2 separate regions of the Homo sapiens genome follow, and region 2 is linked to region 1. Evidence: promoter capture Hi-C in human tissues and cell types (Jung and others, 2019). All regions are on one chromosome and are shown on one strand. Each heading gives the region's core, a stretch centred on a gene start or on the middle of the fragment in contact. The rest is flanking DNA. Distances are from core to core; before and after follow the strand shown. Region 1 holds the start of HMX3 (H6 family homeobox 3). Region 2 has its middle 8.7 kb from the start of LINC02641.

Evidence for each region. The method cuts DNA at HindIII sites, captures the fragments that hold promoters and counts their contacts. A contact is called where the count stands out against the background at its distance.
Region 2: a contact is called between a fragment that was not itself captured here and the fragment with the promoter of HMX3 in region 1, in 1 of the 25 tissues and cell types used here (lymphoblastoid cells).

The regions. Positions count from the first base shown.
Region 1 is chr10:123,132,213-123,139,046 of GRCh38, forward strand. It overlaps HMX3 (H6 family homeobox 3), which reads left to right and starts at 3,758. Exons shown (of 2, transcript NM_001105574.2): 1 at 3,758-4,238; 2 at 4,846-6,834. The coding sequence starts at 3,839. The coding sequence ends at 5,519. RefSeq lists enhancers at 625-734, 801-1,095, 2,973-3,923, 5,106-6,070 and silencers at 2,927-3,046, 3,077-3,206, 3,587-3,666, 3,717-4,126, 4,137-4,186 and 1 more. The HindIII fragment of the contact is 9,325 bases long and covers 1-6,834 here.
Region 2 is chr10:123,335,855-123,342,688 of GRCh38, forward strand. No RefSeq gene overlaps it. Among named protein-coding and RNA genes, the nearest start is that of LINC02641, 8.7 kb to the right of the region's middle. The HindIII fragment of the contact is 5,290 bases long and covers 688-5,977 here.

The sequences.
Region 1 (6,834 bases), core at 2,508-5,007:
AAAAATATGGAAAGCTCCCCTCCTTTGGGAAGCGCCTTGCTTACTGACTTGTGTGTGTGCACAAACGTGTATGTGCTTTGTGTGTGTGGTGGGCCTGGGGCAGGTGAGAATGCCATGCCAAGCACTCCTGTATCAGGCCTCATGCTTTTGTGTAAAAGTTGGGTGTTAATCACTGGCATTCTCCAGTCCCCTTCTGCCCTCTTGGCTCCTTGTCCCAAGGGTGGGTGGTGTAGAGACCCGCTCTCACAGCCCATCTGCCTGAGATTAGCCTGGGAAAGGTCCCCCAAAGGTCCTATTCCTTGGGCTCCTTTAGGTTTTGTAAAATGCAGCATCAAAAGATCTCAGATTTCATTAAACTCTTTAAAAACAGCTTTTGGGTATGATCAGGCTATCTGAAGGTCCCTAATCAAGTGGGCCAATTCTCTGTAAGGGAACTGTGAATCCATTCATTCATTCATCCATTCATTCATTCGTCTCACTCAGGCATTCAGGCATTAATACAAGCGTTTCCTGAGCACAAGCATTTCCTGAGCACAAGCGTTTCGTCCGCTGATCGGCCGGCGGCGCTGAGTCCTGGGAAGACGAATGAGGCAGGCCCGTTCCCTCCTTCCCTCCCCGAGTCCTTCCTGGAGAACACCTAGCCTGAGGTTAGGACCGGCACCTAAAGGATAGAACGAGACGGGGACCACAGAATGGGCCCTAAAACAGGCAGGAAAAGCGGGAAGGAGGATGACAGGCAGGCGAGACCACTTCCTGTCGTGGCCAGGTAGAGATCAGCAGAGATCTGAAGGCGATTTCACCCACTTCTTCTCCCGGGATCCAGAGAAAAAATGCTTTTGTTTTCTAACTGCGGCGGCGAAGGGCGAGACCTCAATGGCTTTTAAACGTCCTGCGCCGGGACAGCGGTTTCTCCAGCGGAACCTGCAGGCTTGGTTCAGAGGCTGTCCCATAGAGGGCGCTGTCTGCCTGACTTTGAATGGAGTCGTGAGCGCAAGAACGCTGGCAACACCTCTCGCCAGACGGCGAGTAAAGGGCTGAGTCCGCGCCCAGACCCGACTCCCACCAGCTTTCTCGAAGGGGAAGGGAAAGATCTACTCAATACATCCCGCTTTTCAAGCCCAGCAATCCCTAAAACTGAGAGGATGGGCTGAGAGTGCTGACACTGGAGAAGCTCCTCTCCCGGGCCAAACACAAGCACATAACAGCGCCCCTGCGCGCCCCTGGGAGGGGAGTCAACCGGAGAACTTGGGGCGACAACCGGAAAGCCGGGATCCGGTAGCCGCACAGCAGGGATGCGGGCGGCTGTCCCGGACTCTTCTCCCGCCACACTGGGCCTGTCCCCTCCCCATCTGAGTCTAGCGCTGGAGTTGTGATCAGCCACGAGTCCCCCTCCCCAGACTGAACCCTCAGCATTCCCAGTTTAAAGTCGACTTTCGTGCGTCAGAACTCTAGCCAAGTTTGCATGCGTCTGCGCTGAATGGCGAAGCTCCCAAAACACACAGGCATACACGCCGGGGTCTCTCCACGCATACTCGGCCGCGTGGCAGGCTGTGTGCAGGCGGTGCCCACCCAACCCTCATAGACCTACGTGCATCGAGCTATTTCTGCGGTTGGGGGAAAATGACCTCTGGGTATCCAGCAGCGATTGGGCGACCTAGGCCCAGTTTCCTCCTCTCTGGGCGCGGGTTTCCACTTACAAAATCCAAGTATGAGACCCACCCTGCTGGGGTCTCAGGGCAGTGATCCGTTCCAACCCAGATTTTGGATGGCGTAGCGTTTTGCATTCCAGTAAAGCCCTGTGTAAACTCAAGGGAGTAATAACAGTAATTGTTTATGGAAGCGCCATTTACGTTTCCAGATTTCCAAAGCAAAAATGGGGTTCGCTGCTGTAGATGAATGCAGAAAGAAACATTACATATGCCCGTCGAGATTTGGTGGGGGAGGGTCTGACGCCCCAGGACCGAAAAACAAAATCTACCTCTCAAGTGGGGACCCCACACGATCACGTCTGCCAATGCAGGGCGGCCTTGAATTAGGCGAGGCTCAATCTAACGAAAAAGAAAGCGGTGGGGAGGTGAAGGGATCCCAAAAAGCCCTCGTGTGCGGGAGCTTCACCAGGGTGGAAGAGGGTGAGGCCAGTTTGTCACCTTTCTCTGATAAGAAAGCTGTCTCTCGGGAGGGGACCTCACAAACAATTCTGATTTACTTGATGCTTAAATCATGAGTCTTAAATGTCTGCCTCATGGGCTTCTCGTGCGAACCGGGGAGCTGTTTTTAAAGCCAGTGGAGTGGAATGTCCTTTCACTAAGCCGTTCTGCAAAGGTCCAGTGTGGTTCTCTAAGGACTTCGCTGCCGTCGAGACGCGCAGCGGATGCCGCTGCTTGCCGCGGCGGAGGAAGCTACGCCGCTGCGCCTTCGGTTCACCTTGCCCCCATTAAAGCGTTAGTTAGACAGCTCCAAACGCCAGCTGGCCGGAGAGACTTCCTGGGAGAAAGTGCTGTCGTCGGGGTCACAGACTCGGAGTTGATCCGCGAGCCTTGGGCACCGGCGGCCAGAGCAGAGGGGTGCCCTTCCGAGAGCAGCCGTCGGTGCCGAGAAGCTGTTGCCCCAGCAGCCCCACCGAGTGACGCGCGGGTTTTGGCCGGGTCAGCGCGCATACGCACACAGGCACACCCACTCCTGGTCCCGGGGGAAGGCTCACTCTTCGGTTTTCCAGGGCTAAAGGCCAAGGCCACGCGGATTTCTGAGTCCGAAGACGCAGTGCGAGGACTTACACCTGGATTCCCTTACTATCGGCTGGATGGTGGGTGGGGAACCCAAATCCCTCTCTTCTTGGCCTCGCCCTTCCTAGCAGGCTTTAGGAAAAATACCGAGGTCGCCGGACCCCAAAGGGTAGGAAAATGATGAGTTCTCCGAGGGCCGAGGTCACGTCCTGCCTCTTGGGCCGGCGCTGCGTGGCTCTCCAGCTGCGTGGGGGCGGCGGGCCCCTGTCCAGCCCCAGGGGGCGGGGGAGCGGCAGCTGCGAGCGCAGATAACCCCGAGGTGACCCGGGAGGGCCTGGTCCGCCCCTCCCCCCTCCCGCAGGCCTGGCGGCGGGAAGCGGGTCCCTGCGCCGCAGGGGGGAGAGGCAGGCGCGGTCTCCGGGCTCGCGGCCGTTAGTGCGCTTCGGCCAAGGGCGCCGCCTGCTCCGCGTCCCTCGCTCGCCTCCTGCGCTCGCAGGAGCGCTCCGAGTGCCTCTTTAGCGGGAGCCAATATCCTTTTGTGCTAATAGGCTTGTCCTCATTTGCTGCCTAATTGGACTATATAAAGCCAATAACGGGCGGGCTCTTATAGCCCGAAGCCAAAGCGCCAAAATCCGAGGGAAGGCGAGGAGGGGGCGGTGGCGGAGGCGGCTGCGGGGCCGGGGCTCGGCTGAGCCTTCGCCTGCCTAATCCCATTTGCCATTGTACGCGCCCAATCGCCGTATACTCCCCGCATTTAACTTGGATGACATTTTGATTTCATCATTAGCATCCGGCGCCGGATTGACGCAGCCTCGAGCCGGGGACTGCTCTTGCTGCCTCCTCCGCGGGAGCCGCAGCCGCAGCCGAGCCGCCTCGATCCCTCGGTGCCGCGGCAGGGCCGCTCCCCGCCCCTCCGCACCCCTCCCTCATGCGAGCCCGCCCGTCTGGGTCCTCACTCCGCCCTCCCGCCGTTGGATTTGCGCCCGGGGCGGCCCCCGACTTTGCGCCCCGTAGTTGAGTTCCGTTTATGGTCTGATTTCCGGCCTCTCGCCTGCTCGCCCCGCCGCCCGCCTGTCCCGCTCCCTCCCTCCCGGGGACCCGGAGGAGAGGGGACCATGCCGGAACCCGGGCCGGACGCTGCCGGCACCGCCAGCGCACAGCCCCAACCGCCGCCGCCCCCCCCACCCGCTCCCAAGGAGTCCCCGTTCTCCATCAAGAACCTGCTCAACGGAGACCACCACCGGCCGCCCCCTAAGCCTCAGCCGCCCCCACGGACGCTCTTCGCGCCAGCCTCGGCTGCCGCCGCCGCCGCCGCTGCCGCTGCCGCGGCGGCCAAGGGGGCCCTGGAGGGCGCCGCGGGCTTCGCGCTCTCGCAGGTGGGCGACCTGGCTTTCCCTCGCTTTGAGATCCCGGCGCAGAGGTTTGCCCTGCCCGCGCACTACCTGGAGCGCTCCCCAGCCTGGTGGTACCCCTACACCCTGACCCCCGCCGGCGGCCACCTCCCGCGACCTGAAGGTACCGACCTCTCTTTGAACTTTCGTTGTCCCCCTGCGCGCCCGCCCCGTCCCCGCCCCGCGCTGCTTCCCTCCGCAGTTCTGGGACCCCAGCACCCGCAAACCCTCTGCTCGGTCAGTTTTTTTCGGCCCCTAGCCTGCCCTCGCGCTGGGTTGCGCTGCCCGTTAATCCAATCCCACTTGGTGAGAAAAGAAGTGGAATTGGAGCCCCGGGCACGGTGCTTCCCGGGAAAAGTGGCCTCGGGCGTGAATAGGGAGGCTTCGGACGGCCGGGGCTTGGGACACGGCCTGGAAGGAGGGGGTGATTCCAATGCGCCTAAGCCGAAAGGGAACCGTTCTGCCGGCCCCTGGCGAGGAAGCTGAGGGAATGGAAGGAGGTGGCCGCGCTACCACCATCTGCTTGCCTGTCCTCGGGAGGAGGGGGATCCCAGGACTCGGCGTCCCTTCTCTGGCCCAGCCGAGAAGGAGGCAGCCCGCGGGAATGGTGAGGCCTCATGGCCTGGGACCTGGAGGCCGGCGCGGGTTGAGCCTGCCGTCCCCAGGCGCCGGGCCTCGCTCAAGGCTGTGTCGGTGTGCATGTGTGTGCGTCCGTCTGTCTGTCTCCCCAGCCTCGGAGAAGGCCTTGCTGAGAGACTCCTCCCCCGCCTCCGGCACAGACCGCGACTCTCCGGAGCCACTGCTCAAGGCCGACCCCGATCACAAGGAGCTGGACTCCAAGAGCCCGGACGAGATCATTCTGGAGGAGAGCGACTCCGAGGAAAGCAAAAAGGAAGGCGAAGCGGCGCCAGGCGCGGCCGGGGCGAGCGTAGGGGCGGCGGCGGCCACTCCGGGCGCAGAAGACTGGAAGAAGGGCGCTGAAAGTCCAGAGAAGAAGCCGGCGTGCCGCAAGAAGAAGACGCGCACAGTCTTCTCGCGCAGCCAGGTCTTCCAGCTCGAGTCCACCTTCGACATGAAGCGCTATCTGAGCAGCTCGGAGCGAGCCGGCCTGGCCGCGTCCCTGCACCTCACCGAGACGCAGGTCAAGATCTGGTTCCAGAACCGCCGCAACAAGTGGAAGCGGCAGCTGGCGGCGGAGCTGGAGGCGGCCAACCTGAGCCATGCCGCGGCGCAGCGCATCGTGCGGGTGCCCATCCTCTACCACGAGAACTCGGCGGCCGAGGGCGCGGCGGCTGCAGCCGCGGGGGCCCCGGTGCCAGTCAGCCAGCCGCTGCTCACCTTCCCGCACCCCGTCTACTACTCGCACCCGGTGGTCTCTTCCGTGCCGCTGCTACGGCCGGTCTGAGGCCCCAGAGGGGTGGGGGAGGGAGCGCCCGGCCTCCTTGTCCGGACCCCGGAGGAGACTGGGCCGGGCCGAGGGCGCCGAGAAGTCCAGCGGCCTTCAGGAACTGGGGCTTGGGCGCGCAGCCTCTGCTTCCCCTCCCCCAGTCGGTAGCATTTTGTAAGTATTTGCAATGCATTTTCGTGCAATTCATCCCTAATGGATTGGAGGCGCTTCCCCTCTTACTTTTGGTTTTTGGCTTATATTAAGAGAAAGCAGGAACAAGACAAAATTTTCGGGTCAGAGATTTCGGCCGATAGTTTTTGTAAAATGTGCAGCCCTCCCTTCCAAATTTCCATTGCGCGGTGGCTTTTTGGTTTTATTTTTATAGAAGGAAAATAAGCGCAAAACCTAAATCCCTCTAGTTTATTCTTTTCTGCTTTTTTTTTTTTTTCCGAGACGGAATCTTGCTCTATCTATTGCCCAGGCTGGAGTGCAGTGGCGCGATCTCGGCTCACTTCGACCTCCGCCTCCCGGGTTCAAGTGATTCTCCTGTCTCAGCCTCCCGAGTAGCTGGGATTGCAGGTGTGTGCCACCACGTCCGGCTAATTTTTGTATTTTTAGTAGAGACGCGGTTTCACCATGTTGGCCAGGCTGGTCTTGAGCTCCTGACCTCGTGATCCGCCCGCCTCGGCCTCCCAAAGTGCTGGGATTACAGGCGTGAGCCACTGCGCCCGGCCTAGTTTATTCCTTTTCTATAGAACTGTTTTCAGAATCCAGAGAGGGAGAGAATTCATATGATAGTACTTTTATTTCTGGATTTCTGGGTATGTTTCTTCCTCCCAACCCCCAAATCAGTTATCCACCTTAATTTTCAAAATATGAGCAGCCTCTCATAAGAATCCCGACTCAGGCCGCTTTTCTCTTCTGGAGAGGTCTGTTGCAATTAGCCTCTTCATCGGTCTTACTTTGTGATGGAAGAATTCTCTAAGTGTCTAAAGAGAAAAGACAGCCAAAAATCAGAACTCTGACTATTTGAAACAGCTCCATATCTGGCCTGGTCTAAGTGGTCTTATTTATTAGTAGCATTTATTTTGAGAATTTCATTTGTAAATTATTATTAATATTACTATTATTACTTTGTTCCCTGTTTTGAGAGAGTAATTTCAGTATTTTTAATATGATATCTTTTATCCTCTCCTCTTACTTTTCATGTTCTGCAGTAATTATTGTACGTTGACCTGTGCAATATTGTACAAAATCTCCTGAGAAAGCTGTTTCCTCCTCCACCGTGGGAAACAGACCTTTTCACTGTATAATCATGGTCATTCATTTAGAA
Region 2 (6,834 bases), core at 2,083-4,582, 200 kb after region 1:
AAGTTAATATCACAACTGAAAAAAATAGAGAAATAAGAGCAAACCAATCCCAAAGCTAGCAGAAGAAAAGAAATAACCAAAATCAGAGGTGCACTGAAGGACATTGAGACATGAGAAATCATGCAAAAGATCAACAAATTCAGTAGTTTATTCTTTTAAATAATTAATAAGATAGATTGACTGCTGGCTAGAATAACAAAGAAAAAAAGAGAGAAGATCTGAATAAACACAATCAGAAATGACAAAGGAGGACATTACCACTGACCCCACAGAAATAGAAAAAATCCTCAGAGACTACTACGAATACCTATATGCACATAAGCTAGAAAACCTAGAAGAAATGGGTAAATTCCTAGAAACATAAAACCTGCCAAGATTGAATCAGGAAGAAATTGAATCCTTGAATAGACTGTATTAGTTTGTTTTCATGCTGCTGATAAAGACATACACGAAACTGGAAACAAAAAAACTTTCATTGGACTTACAGTTCCACATGGCTGGGGAGGCTTCAGAATCATGGTGGGAGTTGAAAGGCACTTCTTACATGGCAGTGGCAAGAGAAAAATGAGGAAGAAGCAAAAACGGAACCCCCCGATAAACCCATCAGATCTCGTGAGACTTATTCACTATCACAAGAATAGCGTGGGAAAGACTGACCCCCATGATTCACTTACCTCCCCCTGGGTCCCTCCCACAACACATGGAAGTTCTGGGAGATACAATTCAAGTTGAGATTAGGGTGGGGACACAGCCATACCATATCATTCCACCCCTCATGTCCTCACATTTCAAAACCAATCATGCCTTCCTAATAGTCCCCCAAAGTCTTAACTCATTTCAGCATTAACTCAAAGTCCACAGTCTGAAGTTTCATCTGAGACAAGGCAAGTCCCTTCCGCCTATGAGCCTGTAAAATCGAAAGCAAGCTAGTTACTTCCTAGATACAATGCGGGTACAGGTATTGGGTAAATACAGCCATTCCATGTGGGAGAAATTGGCCAAAACAAAGGGGTTACAGGACCCATGGAAGTCTGAAATCCAGCAGGGCAAATTTTAAAGCTCCAAAATGATCTCCTTTGCCTCCAAGTCTCACATCCAGGTGATGTTGATGCAAGAGGTGGATTCCCATGGTCTTGGGCAGCTCCACACCTGTGGCTTTGCAGGCTACAGCCTCCCTCCTGGCTGCTTTCATGGGCTGGCCTTGAGTGTCTGTGGCTTTTCCAGGCGCAAAGTGCAAGCTGTTGGTGGATCTACCAATCTGGGTTCTGGAGGACAGCAATGACCCTCTTCTCACAGCTCCACTAGGTAGTGCCCCAGTAGGGACTCAGTGTGGGGGCTCTGACCCCACCTTTCCCTTTTGCACTGCCCTAGCAGATGTTCTCCATGAGGGCCCCACCCCTGCAGCAAACTTTTACCTGGGCATCCAGGCATTTCCATACATCTTCTGAAATCTAGTGGAGGTTCCCTAACCTCAATTCTTGACTTCTGTGCACCCGCAGGCTCAACACCACATGGAAGCTGCCAAGTCTTGGGGCTTCCACCCTCCAAAGCCACAGCCTGAGCTCTATGTTGGCCCCTTTCAGCCACAGCTGGAGTAGCTGGGACACAGGGCCCCAAGTCCCTAGGCTGCACACAGCAGGGGGACCCTGGGCCTGGCCCACAAAACAACTTTTTCCTCCTGGGCCTCTAAGCCTGTGTTGGGGGGAGCTGCTGTGAAGGTTTCTGACATGGTCTGGAGACATTTTCCCCATGGTCTTGGGGATAACATTAGGCTCCTTTCTACTTATGCAAATTTCTGCAGCCAGCTTGAATTTCTCCTCAAAAAATTGTTTTTTCTTTTCTACTGCATCATCAGACTACAAATTTTCTGAACTTTTATGCTGTTTCCCTTTTAAAATATAATGCTTTTAACAGCACCCACATCACCTTTTGCATGCTTTGTTGCTTAGAAATTTCTTCCACCAAATACCCTAAATCATCTCTCTCAAGTTCAAAGTTCCACAAATCTATGGCAGGGGCCAAATGCGGCCTGTCTCTTTGTTAAAACTAACAAGAGTCACCTTTGTTCCAGTTCCCAACAAGTTCCTCATCTCCATCTGAGACCACCTCAGCCTGGACCTTATTGTTCATATCACTATCAGCATTTTTGTCAAAGCCATTCAACAAGTCTGTAGGAGGTTCCAAACTTTCCCACATTTTCCTGTCTTCTTCTGAGCCCTCCGAATTGTTCCAATCTCTGCCTGTTACCCAGTTCCAAAGTCACTTCCACATTTTCGGATATCTTTACAGCAACATCCCAGTCTATTGGTACCGAGTTACTGTATTAGTCTTTTCTCATGCTGCTGATAAAGACATACCTGAGACTGGGAACAAAAAGAGGTTTAATTGGACTTACAGTTCCACATGGCTGGGGAGGCTTCAGAATCACGGTGGGAGGCGAAAGGCACTTCTTACATGGTGGTGGCAAGAGAAAAATGAGGAAGAAGCAAAAGCAGAAACCCCTGATAATCCCATCAGATCTCATGAGACTTATTCACTATCATGCAAATAGCACAGGAAAGATTGGTCCCCATGATTCAATTACCTCCCCTAGGTCCCTCCCTCAACATGTGGGAATTCCGGGAGATACAATTCAAGTTGAGATTTGGGTGGGGACACAGCCAAACCATTTTATAGACCAATAATGAGTTCTGAAATTGAATCAATGATAAAAAGCCTACCAACCAGAAAAGGCCCAGGATCCGACAGATTCACAGCCGAATTCTACCAGACGTATAAAAAGAGCTGTTACCATTCCTACTGAAACTACTCCAAAAAAATTGAGGAGGAGGGACTCCCCCCCTAACTCATTCTATGAGCCAAGCATCATCTTAATACCAAAACCTGACAAAGGCACAACCAAAAAAGAAAACTTGCTGACAGTTTCACTGCATTCCACAGTATTGCATTTCCCTCCTAGTGGGAGAACAATTTCCCCTTTGGGATGGAAATTCTGCATTCTGATGGAAGAGAGAAAAGGCAACCTGTTTGCTCAGCTCTGGTGAGAACACTTAGTTTCAGATGCCTGGACTTGCTGGACCGATGTACACATATTGCAAATGGTCCCCAGCCTAATGGCCCTGCCAGTGTCTCCTACAGGGTGGAGATGACAGTTGATTTTAGAGGTTCCCGGAAACAGGTGCACATGGTAAGGAAAATACTCTCTTTTCATCCTTCTCTGGAATTTTCTAATCAAGTTGAGGAAAAAGGCTCAGTTTGTGCTAACATGTCTTTAACACCTTTCTAACATTTCTTAACACGATTTTGTTTGTTTCTATTTTTAAGCACAGGGAGGAGGCCTCAGGTCAGAGTGCTCCTGCTCCTCGGGTAGCCCATCCATCTAGCAGTTTTAGTTTTCTTTGTACGGCTACTTTATGGTTAATAAAGCCACTTTGCAAAATTATAAAGTTTCTAAAGAAATTATGAAAATAGTGTCACTGTATTAGACAAATGAAAACAATAGTGGCTGAGGCAGAAGAACTGCTTGAACCCGGGAGGCGGAGGTTGCAGTGAGCTGAGATCACACCTCTGCACTCCAGCCTGGGCCACAGAGTGAGACTCTGTCTCAAAACAAAAAAAGGAAAAAAAAGTAGAAAAAAAGTAGTTACCCATTTTACTATAAAATTTTGATGCCTTTTTTTAAGTACAAAAATGGAAATCATATTCCTAGTATCCTTCTGTTTTCTTCCCTCACTAATATAATAGCATACCTATTTACATGGTATCACAAGTGCTTTATAAACATGGCATTAATGGCTTAGTTCTTTTTTGATTATAAAATTAAAATGTAGAAAGGTCAAATAAGAACCTAAGAATAAAAGAAGTAAGAATAATACAATTACTTAAAGAATGTCACTGTAAGGGTTTTAAAGCTTTTCTTTTTCTTTTTATTCTTTTTCTTATGTGTGTTTATAATATGTACATTTAATTTTTTAAAAATTGAATCACACAATTTTACAGTAACAGTTTTCATGTGCTTAGTATTTTATTCTATTTTTTTACATGTATGTGCCATAAAACTTTGGATTATTTGGTTTGGTTAGCGCCCCTAAAAAAATTGTCAGTCCAAAAGGTGAGTGTTTCTTAAATTATATATCATACGTTATATATGACTAAATTGTTTCCTAAAAAAAGTGTGTCGATTTATTTTCCCACAAGCAAAATATGAAAGTTTATTACAGCCTCTTCAGTGTTTGGAGCTCTTATTCATGAGATTTCTACTACTTTTATAGGCAAAATGTTTTATTTTTAGTTTTTCAATTCGCATTTTTTTAAAATTTTATTATTATTATACTTTAAGTTTTAGGGTACATGTGCACAATGTGCAGGTTAGTTACATATGTACACATGTGCCATGCTAGTGTGCTGCACCCATTAACTCGTCATTTAGCATTAGGTATATCTCCTAATGCTATCCCTCCCCCCTCCCCCCACCCCACAACAGTCCCCAGAGTGTGATGTTCCCCTTCCTGTGTCCATGTGTACTCATTGTTCAATTCTCACCTATGAGCGAGAACATGCGGTGTTTGGTTTTTTGTCCTTGCGATAGCTTACTGAGAATGATGATTTCCAATTTCATCCATGTCCCTACAAAGGACATGAACTCATCATTTTTTTTTGGCTGCATAGTATTCCATGGTGTATATGTGCCACATTTTCTTAATCCAGTCTATCATTGTTGGACATTTGGGTTGGTTCCAAGTCTTTGCTATTGTGAATAGTGCCGCTATAAACATACGTGTGCATGTGTCTTTATAGCAGCATGATTTATAGTCCTTTGGGTATATACCCAGTAATGGGATGGCTGGGTCAAATGGTATTTCTAGTTCTAGATCCCTGAGGAATCGCCACACTGACTTCCACAATGGTTGAACTAGTTTACAGTCCCACCAACAGTGTAAAAGTGTTCCTATTTCTCCACATCCTCTCCAGCACCTGTTGTTTCCTGACTTTTTAATGATTGCCATTCTAACTGGTGTGAGATGAGCATTTTTTAACAACTACTGTGGCTGGCCCTTTTCCTTGTCTGTATAGTTTCTCCTTTCTGATTTGTGCAAATACTATGGGTCCTTGGTGGGCATTTCATGTCAGGAGCTTGGGGTTTGTCTCAGCTGTTATTGTGAGGAAGGTGAGGTCTTGGAAGATACCATGAGTGCAGGGAGCTGCCTTTGGCTTCATCATATTTCATGTCACCAGTGGGCGGCCATGACCTAAGCAATGACCTATTCATCTAGAGTCTCAGGTGCCAGGAAGTTCAAGCCATAATTCTTTGGTACCCTAAGAAAGACAAAGATTAGAAGTAAGAACAAAAGGTAAGTGAGCAAGAGAGACAGATTTGCAGGCTGATAAAAGTTTATCAAAACAAACAAATCCCTATAACAGAAAAAAATCCATATTCTAGGATATGTCAGGATTGGAAGAGGTTCACCCCCAAACCCAGCATATTCTTTTTTTATATATACTTTAAGTTCTAGGGTACATGTGCACAACGTGCAGGTTTGTTACATATGTATACATGTGCCATGTTGGTGTGCTGCACCCATTGACTCGTCATTTACATTAGGTATTTCTCCTAATGCTATCCCTCCCCCATCCCCCCACCCCACAACAGGCCCCAGTGTGTGATGTTCCCCACCCTGTGTCCAAGTGTTCTCATTGTTCAATTCCCACCTATGAGTGAGAACATGCGCAAACCCAGAATATTCTAAAGAGACAAAGTGGAACTAGATGGTGTGTAGACAGACCTGGATTAGAACCCTGACAAGCTGTATTAGAAACCATCAAGTTGTGCAAAGCGGGACAGGTTTCTCCACTTGAATCCAGTCTCTGCATCTGTAAAATGGGCAAGTGTGCCCTTCCTTTCAGAACTTCAGATGATTAAGTCAAACAGTGTTCATTAAATAGATAAAACCAAGGCTGGCACATACAGGCATTCAGTAAACAAGAGCTTAAAAAATTTCCACATCCAGGATTTTGTGGTATTAATGATAAGGAAGATGAATGGGAGGGATGATACATTTTGAAGGGTGTTCTGAATTATGGAAATAAAAGAGAGCCAGTTGCATCTTTTACCAAAGGTACAACTTTCAGTATAAATATCTTTATTGTATTTCAATACTTGAACAAATTGGTGAGACACTGATATTAGAATTTTATACTCTCAGGAGCATTCAATTTCCCCATCACTGATGAAAGTAGGCATTTCAATATTTACTACAAATTGGCTAGAATTTTCAGGAGTTGGTTTATCACTAAGTGAAAATAACAGCACTTAGTTTTCCTGAAACCCAAGAAAAAATCATTTTTCTAAAGTCTTGTCTTTTTAATAGTTGTGCTGTGAAGTAGTTTTTATTAGTGGTTGGGTTTTGTTAAGGGGAAGGAATTTTTTTTCTTTTTTGAGACGGAGACTTGCTCTGTCACCAGGCTGGCATGCAGTGGTGCGACCTCGGCTCACTGCAAGCTCTGACTCCTGGGTTCAAGCGATTCTCCTGCCTCAGCCTCCTGAGTAGTTGGGACTACAGGCACATGTGACCACGCCCGACTAATTTTTGTATTTTGGTAGAGACAGGGTTTCACCATGTTGGCCAGGATGGTCTCGATCTCTTGACCTCATGATCCACCCGCCTCAGCCTCCCAAAGTGCTGGGATTACAGGCATGAGCCACTGTGCCCGGCCAGGATGGTTTTTCTAAGGCAGTATCCTCCCTCCCTCAACACACATACACTTAATCCTGGAGAGTCCCCGAAGTCAGGACAACACAAGGACACTGGGTAATGCCACTTGAGGCAGAGTGAG